Linked DNA regions of Homo sapiens: region 1 is linked to region 2. The links are contacts of gene promoters, found by promoter capture Hi-C in blood cells and fetal thymus (Javierre and others, 2016). All regions are on one chromosome and are shown on one strand. The core of a region is centred on a gene start or on the middle of the fragment in contact, and the rest is flanking DNA. Distances in the headings are between cores, read along the strand shown.

Region 1 (6,819 bases), core at 3,356-5,855, 380 kb after region 2:
TGCTATTCATCAAAATGTTTTACAGTGCTACATGTAGGCATTCCTTTATTAAGTCCTTTTCTTTATATTCCAAAACTAAGTTATCAAGCTTATTATTATTTTTTTCTTGCTGAAGTACATAACTTTACACAACCATTTTAAAACTGGAGAGCCAGTCTTTAATAAATTAATTACAGTATTGGACATCTGATATATACATAAATTCATTTTCTTCTATTACAGTTAAAAGCAATATCACTCTTTTGATTTGTCATTGAGATAGGATATCTTCAAATTGTTTTGTGCTTTTTTCCTTCTTCCCTTTTTTTTTTTTTTTGTTTTTTGCTTTTAGCATAGTAAACTCTCCTGTAATGAAAATGCCACAGTTTTGGCAGTGAACAACCAGAGGAATCCCCATTAGGATTTTCCAACAAACAGAGATAAATAGCTCTTTTTCATGTACAGAAATATTGGCTTCAAAATTAGTGTACTAAACACAGTATATAGAATGTTGAATACCATTGTTACATAGTAAAAATTGCTTTTTTTCTGTCTTAGATTATGTTAAAAAATGCAAACCATGGCCGATTTTTTTGGCAATTATTTCTTAAGACCATATTGCACAAAAGTCCTTAAATACAGATATAAGTTATGCTACTGGATTAAATATTACAACAACTATGTGGCAAATGAAGCATTTTACTTTGCACATGCAGTCTCTGGAGATACACGAGGAGACTGTTCATAGGACTACAAATACACTTTGCTTGCAAGTAGAATGAGTCTTGAATAAAACAAACAATTTGGCAATTCATTGTTTTGTGTGGTATTTTCTCCAAACTTAACCATGGAAAACCTTGATAAAAATGGAGACAAAGACCATAACGGTTGTGTTTTCACAGTAGCCTGAGGAATGCTAAACTGTAGTTCTCCAGGAACTCAGTTTCTGATGTTATTTAACTACTTTTATTTCCCATCTCAGCCCTCCAAAATGATTGTTTTTAAATGAACATTAAGATTCAGAAGAAGAGCCAGCAGTACTTTCAACAAATGACTTATAAATTTGAGAGTTCAAAAACCTTGGAAAAGAATCTCTGTGCATTAAAGTATATATCTGAAGTTGGGCATCTTCATACATGTGAGGATTGGGATCCAACAGATTTCTATTGATCACCTCTCTAACTCGAGAATCAAGACTGACCTAAAAAGAAACAAGAGCAAATACATTAAATAATATTTTTTTCAAAAGACCTCAATTAAGTAACTGTAGGTTTGTGACATTTTAGAGAAACTTTAAAGAGCAAATCCAACTACCAAAAGTCTTGGGTTCATCTTTTGAGACTACACAACCTTATGTACTTTTCTCCTTCAAAATTTGCACTAAATAAAAAAATCCAATTAAGTCTTTTAAACCAGAAATTTAGTTTACAGATGTCTTTGCTTACTTGGTTTTATGGTTTCTATGCATTCATTCAGGAGTTTTTGACAATTTCTAATCATGGTTGAGATACCAGAAATTTCCTAGCCAGAATGTGAATTCACCTCCTGCTATTCTGTGACTGGGGGAGGTTGGCAATATTGATAAGAAGATAAAAATCTACTGGCAGAAAAGAGTTCCCTGGCAAAAATTAACATGCATATAAAATGCCAACTCCCCACAGTTTTGTATCCTAACAAGTCCTACTGTGTCAAAAGTAGGAAACCAAGAGTGTGGCAGGGCATGCAATGAGCAGGTATGCTTCAGGTCTCACATCTACCTGGCAAGGACTAGCAAACATCCTTATATATCCAAAGACCTCTTACTAACGATGAAGCAGATCAGTTGCTTGGAGTGAGATCTTTGAGAGGAGAAATAGGAATAGGAATGCAGAATGACCATTAAGATAATCAATACAGTGTTATTTGAAAAGTGTACAAAAATTAAATTCTGCAATGATTTAGGATCTTCCCCCTTCCTCACTAAATGCAAATCCTCTTGGAACTGGTAAAACATGTTGGAAAGGGAAATGGGGAAAAATACTTGGCAATAAGGGCATGGTTGGAGGAACAGAACTAAAGCCCTGCGCTGAAACACCATGTTAGAACAACCCTACAAGTGGTAAACAACCACTCAAAGTCCAGATTGTTTTCCTCGATCCTCACTGTTTAGCAAGGAATAGGACCTGTGAACCATAGTTATTTCATGACATATTCACATAAAACCTTCCATATTTATATTTAAACATGTTGTCATAAGCATTCTGCAAATGCCTTTTAGTTCTGGCTTCTTTTCCCACCACTGTTCAGACTAAGTCTGGGAACTAATACAGTCTCTTATTGAAGCCTCTCCTATTCCATCCAGTGTCCCCAGGTTCCTGACCTCAACAGACCACGTGGATTTGGGTTGATTGCTACACCCCAGGGATGGCTACTAGATTTGTTGGGAGATGGCAATCCAGACTACATTTCTGTGGCTTAGCCAGACCAACTCATACAGGGACACCTCATTTTACTGCACTTCCCTTTATTTAGTTTTTCGCAGATACTGCGTTTGTTACAAATTGAAGGCTTGTGGCGATCCTGTGTCAAGGAAGTCGACTGGCACCATTTTTCCAATAGCGTGTGCTCACTCTGTGTCTCTGTGTCACATTTTGGTAGTTCCCATAATATTTCACAATTTTCATCATTATTATATATTTTAAGGTGATCTGTGATCAGTGACCTTCGATGTTACTCTTGCAATTGTTTTAGGAGGCCATGAACCATGCCCATATAAGACTTAATTAATTCTTAATTGATGACTATAGTGTGTATACTGACTGTTCCACTGACCTGCTATTCCCATATCTTTGTCCCTCTCCTCAGGCCTCCCTATTTCCCACAGAGAAAACAATATTGAAATTAGGCCAGTTAATAACCCGCCAGTGGCCTCTAAGTGTTTAAGTGAAAGGAAGATTCACACATCTGTCACATTAAATAAAAAGCTAAGAAATGGTTAGTTAAACTTAATGAGGAAGGCATGTCGAAAGCTGAGACTGGTCAAAAGCTGGGCCTCTTTTGAAAGTTAGCCAAGTTGTGTAGGCAAAGGAAATGTTCTCAAAGGAAATTAAAAGTGTTACTCCAGTGAACATGTGAATAAGAAAGCAAAACAACCTGTTGCTGAAATGTAAAAAGTCTGAGTGGTCTGGATAGAAGATCAAACAAGCCACAACATTCCCTTAAGCCAAACCCTAATCCAGAGCAAGGTCCTAACTCTCTTCAATTCTGTGGAGACTGAGAGAGGTAAGGAAGCTGTGTAAGAAAAGTTTGAAGCTCACAGATGTTGGTTCATGAGGTGTAGGGAAAGAAGTTATCTCCATAACATAAAAGTTCAAGGTGAAGCAGCAAATGGCTGATGTAGAAACTGCAGTAATTTATTCAGAAGATCTAGCTAAGATAATTGATGGAGGTGGCTACACTAAACAGCAGGTTTTCAGTATAGACAAAACAGCCTTATATTGGAAGAAGATGCTATCTAGGACTTTCAGAGCCAGAGAGAAGTCAATGCCTGATTTCAAAGATTCAAGGACAGGCTGACTCTGCTGTTAAGGGCTAATACTAACTGGTAACTTTAAACAGATACGAATGCTTATTTACCATTCTGTAAATCCTAGAGCCCTTAAGAATTATGCTAAATCTACTCTGCCTGTGAACTATAAATGGAACAACAAAGCCTAGATGACAGCACATCTGTTTATAGCATGTCTTACTGGGTGTTTTAAGCCCACTGTCGAGCCCTACTGCTCAAAGAAAAAAAAGATTCCTTTTAAAGTTCTACTGCTCATTGACAATGCTCCTGGTCATCCGAGAGCTTTGATGAAGATGCACGAGGAAATTAGTATTGTTTTCATGCCTGCTAACACAGCATCCATTCTGCAGCCCATGGATCAAGAAGTAATTTCAACTCACAAGTATTATTTAAGAAATACATTTCAGAGGCCAGGCGCGGTGGCTCACGCCTGTAATCCCAGCACTTTGGGAGGCTGAAGTGGGTGGATCACGAGGTTAGGAGATCGAGACCATCCTGGCTAACACGGTGAAAACCCGTCTCTACTAAAAATACGAAAAATTAGCCAGGTGTGGTGGTGGGTGCCTGTAGTCCCAGCTACTTGGGAGGCTGAGGCAGGAGAATGGCGTGAACCTGGGAGGCAGAGCTTGCAGTGAGTCTTGATCGCGTTGCTGCACTCCAGACTGGGCTACAGAGTGAGACTCCGTCTCAAAAAAAAAAAAAAAAGAAACCCATTTCATAAAGCTATCGCCGCCATAGTGATTCCTCTGATAGATCTAGGCAAAGCAAATGAAAAACCTTCTGGAAAGAATTCACCATTCTAGTCATTAAGAACATTTGTGATTCATCGAAGGAGGTCAAAATATCAACATTAACAGGAATTTAGAAAAAGTTGATTCCAACCCTCCTGGATGATTTTGAGGAGTTCAAGACTTCAGTGGAGGAACTAACTGCAGATGTGGTGGAAATGGTAATAGAACTAGAATTAGAAGTGGAGCCTGAGGATAGGACTGATTGCTCCGATTTCATAATAAAACTCTAAAGAATAGGGGCTTGCTTCTTATAGATGAGCAAAGAAAGTGGTTTCTTGAGATGGAATCTATTCCTGGTGAAGATGCTGTGAACATTGTTGAAATGACAACAAAGGATTTAGATTACATAAACTTAGTTGATAAAGCAGCAGCAGGGTTTGAGAGGATTGACTCCTATTTTGAAAGAAGCTCTACTGTGGGTAAAATGCTACCAAACAGCATTACATGCTATAGAGAAATCTTTTATGAAAGGAAGTCAATCGATGTGGCAAACTTCATTGTTTTCTTATTTGAATAAATTGCCACAGCCACCCCAACCTTCAGCAATACCAGCCTGATGAGTCAGCAGCCATCAATGTCGAAGCAAGACCCTCTCTCCACCAGCAAAAAGATTATGACTTTCTAAAAGCTCAGATGACTGTTAGCGGTTTTTATCAATAAGGTATTTTAAAATTAAGGTATCCACATTTTTAAGACATAATGCTGTTGCTATGCTATTGCCAAGTATTGTTTATACTATGACTACAGTATAGTATATCTTTTTTTTGTTTTTTTTTTTTAGTCTCGCTCTGTCGCCCAGGCTGGAGTGCAGTGGCGCGATCTCGGCTCACTGCAAGCTCCGCCTCCCGGGTTCACGCCATTGTCCTGCCTCAGCCTCCTGAGTAGCGGGGACTACAGGCGCCCGCCACCACGCCCGGCTAATTTTTTGTATTTTTAGTAGAGACGGGGTTTCTCCGTGTTAGCCAGGATGTTCTCAATCTCCTGACCTCGTGATCTGCCTGCCTCGGCCTCCCAAAGTGCTGGGATTACAGGTGTGAGCCACCGCGCCCAGCCAAGCATATCTTTTATGTGCATTGGGAAGCCAAAATATTTGTGCGACTTGTTTTGTGGTATTTGCTTTATTGTGGTTGTCTGTAACTGAACCTGCAGTATTGCTGAAGCAAGCCTAAAAAACATTACTTGGCTGAACTACACATTTGTCTTTATTGGGAATTCTTTAAAAATAAAAATGTTCTGGAAATGAATTGTTCAGTTTTTATTTTCTGTTATTACCACATGAGGTCACTATCAAGTACAAAGTAATTTTAAAAAGCACAGAATATTTTTCCCCAACGTTTTTATTTTACCTGAAAATGTATTTTTGCATTTATATGCCAGAGGGAAATGCTGACACTGGAGTTTAAACTGAGATAAACTGATTTATCTTATTCTGGAACATCATGTTATGGTAAGGTAAATTCTTACCAAACACACTCCTCTGTTTTCTTTCAAACTTGAGAAAACTTTTTGTTTCAATAGAGCAGGAAACCTTACATTAGAGATTAAAAAAGGGGGGGTCATTTACTTCTTAAAAAGTAGTATCATTAAATATAGTGTAAAAGTTTCTTCTCAGTAGAAGGAATCATTATTATCTTAAGACAAATAAAATAAACTATTAAATGGCTTATGTCCTCATTGTTTAATTTTTAATTTTTTTGCAAGCTAAAAACAGTAGTGAAATATTGTAAAGTCATACAGTTCAATATTTAGTAATCTATAACAAAAATGCATTTGTTATTTCTATTTAAAGAATAAAATATTTACCTTAATATCAGGTTGTTTGTCTGAAAAGGCTGTCGATCAGTCAAAAGAAGTGTAGCGAGGTCAAATAATAAGGATAAACCCCATGGGGATAACAATCTATTGTTTCATCTTGTGCCATCTTTGTGCTTCAGAATGTGGATCATCTATAATACAAGGTATTGGTGGTGGATCCCAGTTGGGCCTGGGCCACAGTCACCCTAGGATTCAGGTGTGTCTGGATGGCTTCTAAAGCCATCTTATCTGGGCTCCATTGCATGAGGGACTGAGGAATTTCCTGTAAAGAACTCATCCTAAGGGAAGAGAAAGTTGAGTAGCACAAGATAAGAGCTATCCTCGGGCAATGCATGTCTCCTCTTATCTCAGGCCACAAAGACCCATACCAAGGTGGTGTGGAGAAAAGAGTGCATTCCAGCAATAACAGAATTTATAGCACAAAAGCACTACCCTTGTGAGACAGGGCACAAGACAGCATGATAGGTTTGACCGCATTTAACTGGCAGTTTTAGCAGTGCTGAAAAGTCCGGCAATGTTGAGACATAGCAACTGAAGTTTTAAAAAGACACAAGTGACTTTGCAATAGGTCTCGGTGAACTTGGAAGCATTCATTCCCACAGGGAGCAGGAGACAGGGAGGCAGAAAAGCAAGGGACTTGCAAGCAAAAAGTCATGAGAGCGAAGTGGTCAACAAAAGTATGGAGGT
Region 2 (7,276 bases), core at 2,836-5,335:
AGGGGAAGGAACTAAGATTATGATGCAGCTAAATACATTCAGAAAGGTAAGATTCCTGTATTTATTATTTCACAATAAATATGTATTGAGTAGCTATTTGTAAGGGACCATGGTACTGAGTAAACAGCAGTCAACAAGAGAGACAAGCCCCTCTTACAGCTTATGTGCCGGTAGAGGAAGATGATATAAACAATGTTACAACAAAGGAGGGCAAGTATTGTAATGGAAAAGTCCAGGCTACTATGGAAGCAAACAAAACACCCACCCAATCAATAACCATCTGCTGCATTTTTTTTTTGTTCAGGACACAGAGAGAATTTGGACTATCTGCTATTTGGGATGCTCCCAGTTGAAAGGCATACTCTTCTTAGGAATTTGGACTACCTGCTATTTGGGATGCTCCCAGTTGAAAGGCATACTCTTCTTAGGAATTTGGACTACCTGCTATTTGGGATGCTCCCAGTTGAAAGGCATACTCTTCTTAGGAATTTGGACTACCTGCTATTTGGGATGCTCCCAGTTGAAAGGCATACTCTTCTTAGGAATTTGGACTACCTGCTATTTGGGATGCTCCCAGTTGAAAGGCATACTCTTCTTAGGAATTTGGACTACCTGCTATTTGGGATGCTCCCAGTTGAAAGGCATACTCTTCTTAGGAATTTGGACTACCTGCTATTTGGGATGCTCCCAGTTGAAAGGCATACTCTTCTTAACATCACTCCCTGTGAAAAAACACAGTTGTGAAATAGCACAACTCAATTTTTTCTGTCTCTTGGCAGAATGGACATTGGCTCTTAAAGCAGTTTCTTGTTTGTGTGACTAAAAAGGAATACACTAAGAAAAGCACTGAAGAAATACTACTGAGCCACAAGAATATATATAAGCAATGCAACTGAATTTCTAGGTATTAGGAAACTACTGCAGAAAATTTCAAACCCTGCAATGACCAGAGACAACGTGGCTCATTTCTAACCAAAAAGAAAATGAACTGAGAACATAAACACATAAACAGATTCACAACAGCAGGAAGTACAGATATTAATTAAATGTCTAAACATGTATAAGAATAGCACTAATATTGAAACCCACTATTGAATAAAATTTTTAGTCATGAATAAATTTCAGTTTCCCTTCTATTCAAGTCTTTTGCTGAAGAGAGTTCACATACTGTTTAATTTTAAATTTAATTATTTTTTTCTCTATTCACCCATTAATAATGGTACTAATTAATGAATACTAAGATGGCTAAAAGAGAAGAACAGGGATATCTTTGAATTAATGTAAGTATATTACTAATAAATGTGTGCAGGTTATCAGGGAACAATGCTGTTTCTTATTCACTAGTATGAATTATACAGAGTAACAATAAGAAATGATCTTTTCCATAGAAGAACATGAACAAGTAAGCAAAAGACAAAGTGTATAGCAGAAATCAGCATGAAAGATGTTCAGTGTCATAATTAAATTTTGTTTATTGTAAGCCTAAAGTATAAATTACAACCAAAGACATCTGCAACCTTCTTTTTTTCCCTTGCTACAGTATATTGCACACCTTGCCAAACATTAGTTCTCGTTAGATTAGACCACAAAGAAGTACACATTTAAGAGGAGACACACAGAGGACCTCGCAGAGGCGTTTGGGCCCTGCATGCCTGTCACATTCAGACCACAGGGTGTGGCTGCAGTAGCTAGAGCTGGAGTTGTGAAAATGCCACCAACCTTGCCCAGTTATGGGCTTCCTACATCCTGTGACAGTCACACCTCCTTTCATTTCCAAGATGCTGTGTGTGCAGCATAGTTATCAGAAAGTAGGCCCAGTGCAGCACCAAACAATTCTTGAACATTTTTAAATGGCAAACTAGCTTTTTCCAATCTCCTCTCCCTGGCAGGAAGGACTCAAGTAAAAAAGAGTTCTTAAATGAGGTCAATGAGGACAGAAGAAAACCAGTTTGTGAAAATCATTAGTTCAGAAAGATGAAAGTGAGACTATAAAATAAGAGCTAGGCAAATATTTCCAAAGCCTAGCAAATATTGTTATCTGGGTCAGTCTGAAGCTGTTTCTTAATCTTCAGCATGAAACATATTAAGTTAGTATAGATCTCTCACATTTTGTTCTAAATCTGCCACAAAGTAATGAACAGAAAAGAAAAAATAGATATGTATTTTGTCACACTGTTCCGGTGATATCAGGAACTTTTTAGCCATACTACAAATCTTTTTTCACCATGGGGAATAAAAAGCCTCTCAAAGAACAATCGTCATGACTCGTGATTAAATTCGCATTTTATGAAGATGTAGGTCATATTAATGACCTTTGCCTCATTGAAAATTATTATACTTTCTCTTGCATAGGTCTGGCTTCTGTATACGAATGTTGTCTTTAGGAAAGTCATTCTCAGATGAAGACAAAAAATGGATGGGCATTAAAGAAGAGAAAAATAATTCATTTTTAACTTTCTTAACATTCACAGGAACATTTCAGATACAAGTTTTCCACCCCAAAACGAAAAGCTCAGAAATGAACATTGTGGGATGCTAAGGCTTCATTGCTGATATTTCCCTCTGGGCTGGACCTGACTCTATTTACGGAAGGGGGCAGAACTTCCAGCATCCAAAGTCTGGGATCCCAGTCAGCACACCCAGCCTGCCTTCCCAAGGGGCTTCTTCCTGTGCGGCTGATGGCTGCTTCGTTTTGCACGGATGCCTGCCCGTTGGGATGCACCTGGCCGCCTGTGCACCACCATTTCCCAGAACTCCTCCGCCAGCAATGCAAGATCTCTCTATGTGAAACGTATCTTTATAAAGAGGAGACGAAAGTTCTCTTGCCCTCTAGTGCAGGCTCTGCCGGGAAGCAACTGCACCATGACAGCGCCGCTGGAGTCTGACGCGCCAGGGCCTCCGCGCAGCCTTCAAGCCATTTCCCTCCCCCAGCCCTTCCTAAAATAGTCAGGGGGTGGAGGAAGGGAGGCTCCTAGAATCTGTTCAACGCCCTACCTCTCCCATCTGATAGTAGCAACAGTACCGACCATCACAATAAGAGGCTGGCTGCCTTTTGCTTCTGCACCATTGGAGCCCAGGAGATGTGCCACAAGCGGAAATGACAACTCAGAGAGGGGGATATTAATAGGGACATCTACGTACGAGATGCAAAGAGGCTCCCCAACCTCCTAGTCTCCTTATCTATGAGTATCGCACACGTACACACATCACTGCCACCACCCCCTCCCATCAAGCACGCAGAGCCCCAGCGTGCAGGCACAAACTTGCTGACAATTTGTCTGCAATGTGTTCGTCTTGCACCTCTCTCTCCTCTCCCTGTCTCTGTCTCTCCCTGTCTCCCAGTCTCTGTCTTTCCTTTTACCTTCTCTCTCGGCCTCGTTCAGTTTCCCAGCAGCAAGGCGAAGCGAGCGAACGCTTCCTCCCGGCTCTCTGCGCCCAGGCTCGGCGGGACCCCGGGGATGCGCGGCTGTCCGCCCGCCCTGTCGCCGGGATCGGGCGCGGTCTGCAGGACTGCGGGAGCCCAGCCGCCCTGGTGACAGAGGACAACAATCTCAGCCCGCTGCGGCCGGCGGCCGCGGCCCGGCGCCCGCGCTCACCCTGGCTGGCTCGCCCACACTCACTCCCGCGCCGGGCTGCTCAGCCGCGCTCCCCGCCCTCCGCGACCGGTTCCTCCTCCCGGCTGCTCGCTGGGGGGTGAGGCCTCCCCCTTCGCCCTCCCCCACGCATCTACTGCTCCTGTCGGGAAGGAAGGTCGCCCAGGCCGGTTCAGCCTCTGGGCAGGGTCCCTGCACCGCCCTGGCCCGCCACACCCCCTCCCCGGCTCCGTGCCCCGCGCCCCGCGCCCGGCTCCGGGATGCGCCGGTGCCTGGAAGAGCTGGGGGCGGGGACCCGGAGGCTCGCAGGCTTCCCTACCTCCTGGAGATGCACGGCCTTGGGCGTTTCTCCGCAGCTGCAAAGCTGTGCTGTGACCCACCCGCTCAGCGAGCCTTTATACCGGGACCACCTCCCGGGGGTCGAGGTGGGAAGGAAATGTCCCTGAGAGCCGGGACGCGCTGCCTCCGCTGCCTGGAGGAGCTGCGCTGTCCTGCCAGCTAACTTTTGCCCACGGTTTCCACTGCCCGGGTGACCTTTCTGAGCGGAACCTATCCTGAAAGGCTGGGAGGTTCCCTGATGGTCCCAGGAAGGGCGTGATGCAGAGCAAAGAGCAAAACCCGCTGGCTCCTTTTTCATCAACTTCCGAAAGATCCTAAATCGTTTTGGCTGCCAAGTCAGTAGCAAATAACTTAATTTGAGGGAGACTGGTCAGGCTTTATAGATCTTTTTTAATGTTATGTATAAAGTTTAGACTTCTTGAGAAAGCGCTTGACATCTTTAATTCTTGACTGTTTATTATGATGATTCTAAAAACCACTTTTAGGTTCTTCAGGTGCACTGTATGCACCCTGTACATTGCGGAGCCATTTGTATCTTTGGCCACAAGTCCTTCTCGTGGTGTAAGAGATCTTGGTGTTGCCTGGTAGCATTCAGGAGAATTTATTTTGTTGTGGTTTTATGGTATCCAGGCAAAGTCAAACACAGTCTCTCTTCACCAACAGTGAAGTCCAAGTCCAACAGGATGATTGCAGCTAAAATAATCGAAGCCATGTTGCAATAATCTTAAAAGTAATAATCCCCCCCTTGAATCTCCAATCTGAACAAAACAGTCATTTATCCTCTAAATTTGCTGAAAGGAAGGAGCAGTTTATAAAGTAGATGAAGTTTCTCTTTGCTGCCTGCCTTTCCCTTACCTGCTGCCAACATTCCCACTGCCTAGCTTTCCATTTTCTTCAAATTCTCCTTCTTCTGGATCGTGTCAAAATAATAACATCTGAAACAAATCTGGTAAACCAATCTGATGTGTTCCTCTTCTTTGTGCTGACTTTTGTTTTTTTTTAGAGAGAGAAACCAAACAATGGATCTCTATTTGCAGAACTTGCTACCTCCAAAAGTTGGGCCTGGAGGAGGAGTGTTTGGGATCACTCTCAATGTATGCCCTGCCTCTGCCTGAGGGCAACAATCCTGGGGCACCCCCAGAGCCCCTTGTGGAGACAACCACCAGAGCATAATTATTCCAGGTCAGCCCTCTGTGCCCAGTGGCCACAAAATGGGGTCCAGATTTCCAGGCTTGCCACTCAGAAGAAACAGATCAGAATGGCTCAGCTCACCCTCTCAATCCCTACCTTCATAGAATCAATCCACCCTGCCGGCTTTTGAAGATGGGTAGAAAGTTATTGTGCCAACTTTGCCATTCTTTTTGTTTGTTTGTTTGTTTGAGATGGAGTTTCGCTCTTGTTCCCCAGGCTGGGGTGCAATGGTGCAATCTCGGCTCACTGCAACCTCCGCCTCCCAGGTTCAAGCAATTATCCTGCCTCAGCCTCCTGAGTAGCTGAGATTACAGGGATGCGTCACCACACCTGGCTAATTTTGTATTTTTAGTAGAGACAGGGTTCCTTCATGTTGGTCAGGCTGGTCTCAAACTTCCGACCTCAGGTGACCCATCCAGCTCGGCCTCCCAAAGTGCTGGGATTACAGGTGTGAGCCACTGCACCTGGCCACCAACTTGCTATTCTACACGTTAAGCAACTACTTTCTTGGGTTTACTTACTTGAGAAGTGAGCCACTTAAAACACAAGCCTGAAACATTGCTTCCACCAACTAAAACTCCTCTACTAGGCCTAATCTCTGTTCTCACAGGCTGAGACAGACAGAAGCATAGAGCTGTCTTGCTGGCATTGATTCCCTATACAGCTGAAATCCCATTCTCAGCTAAACTTTATCCTCTGTAGAAGGACTAAGCACATTTTAGAGTTTTGCAAAGGGCTTGTCAGTTTCACACACCCCAGGGAAGGGTGTTGTAGCTCCATTTACTCAACAGCTATTGCTTGAACACTTACCACATAACAAATATTGTCCTAAGTGCTGGGGCTACCGTGGTAAGCAAACTCTGACCGGGCTCTTGCCTTCATGGAGCTTACAGTATGATGGGGGAAGAGCCAGACATTCATCAGAGAACCACACAAATACTTATAAAACCCCATTCTCCAAGCAAAGGCAAATGTTGCTATGAGAGCTTTCAAGAACGGGAGTTGGCCAGGCATGGTGGCTCACACCTGTAATCCCAGCATTTTGGGAGGCCAAGGCAGACAGATCACTTGAGGACAGGAGTTCGAGACCAGCCTGGCCAACATGGTGAAACCCCATCTCTACTAAAAATACAAAAATTGGCCAGGCACGGTGGCTCATGCATGTAATCCCAGCACTTTGGAAGGCCGAGGCAGGCAGATCACAAGGTCAAGAGATCAAGACCAGCTTCACCAACATGGTGAAACCCCATCTCTACTAAAAATATAAAAAATTAGTTGGGCATGGTGGCGCATGCCTGTAGGCCCAGCTACTCAGGAGGCTGAGGCAGGAGAAACACTTGAAGCTGGGAGGCGGAGGTTGCAGTGAGCCAAGATTGCACCACTGCACTCCAGCCTGGCGACAGAGTGAGACTCTGTCAAAAAAAAAAAAAAATAGCCAGCGTGGTTGTAGGCGCCTATAATCTGAGCTACTCGGGAGGCTGAGGCAGGATAATTGCTTGAACCTGGAAAGCGAAGGTTGCAGTGAGCTGAGATCGTGCCACTGCACTCCAGCCTGGGTGACAGAGCAAGACTCAGAAAAAAAAAAAAGGAGGGGAATTAATTTATTTCAGGGATTAGAAAGGCTTTGCTAAGGGAGTGACATCTGAACAGTGAGGTGCAGGAACTAGGTGAACGTGAGCAGGTGGGAAATTGGGAGAGCGCTCCAGACAGAAGGAACAGCATATGCAGAGGCTCTATGGAAGAAAAGCACATGGTGCATTGCAGGAACTGAGGAAGACTGATGAGGTTGCAGAAGAAAAAGCAAGGGAGGGGCCAGGAGGTTTAGGGAATGGTGGGCCCAGTACAGCTGGAAACAGAGCCAAGGGCAGACTATGCCAGTCTTAAAAACTGAACCAAAGGGATGGCCCTTTACAAGAAGCCATTAAAGTGTTCTCAGTGCAACATGATTAGATTTATGTTTTAAAATGTTCTCTTTGGCTAAAATGTGAAAAAACAGATTAGAAGTGGAGCCAGAATCAATAAACATGGACCAGTTAGGAAGGTGGTGCTGTAATCCTTTAGAAAAGACTGTGGTATTTATTATTAGAGTGATGGTGGTGGGAAAATGTAGACAGATTTGAGAGATATTTAATAGATAAAACTTACAGGGCATA

What was found. The method cuts DNA at HindIII sites, captures the fragments that hold promoters and counts their contacts. A CHiCAGO score of 5 or more calls a contact.
Region 1: a fragment that was not itself captured here is called in contact with the fragment with the promoter of SYNE1 in region 2 in 1 of 17 cell types (neutrophils); the score reaches 5.5 in neutrophils.

The regions. Positions count from the first base shown.
Region 1 is chr6:153,010,583-153,017,401 of GRCh38, forward strand. RGS17 (regulator of G protein signaling 17) reads right to left here. Exons shown (of 5, transcript NM_012419.5): 5 at 1-1,180. The coding sequence ends at 992. Among named protein-coding and RNA genes, the nearest start is that of MTRF1L, 11 kb to the left of the region's middle. RefSeq lists a silencer at 5,192-5,374. The HindIII fragment of the contact is 9,038 bases long and covers 87-6,819 here.
Region 2 is chr6:152,633,277-152,640,552 of GRCh38, forward strand. SYNE1 (spectrin repeat containing nuclear envelope protein 1) reads right to left here and starts at 4,086. Exons shown (of 146, transcript NM_182961.4): 1 at 3,913-4,086; 2 at 3,362-3,529. RefSeq lists an enhancer at 1,584-1,713. The HindIII fragment of the contact is 16,108 bases long and covers 1-7,276 here.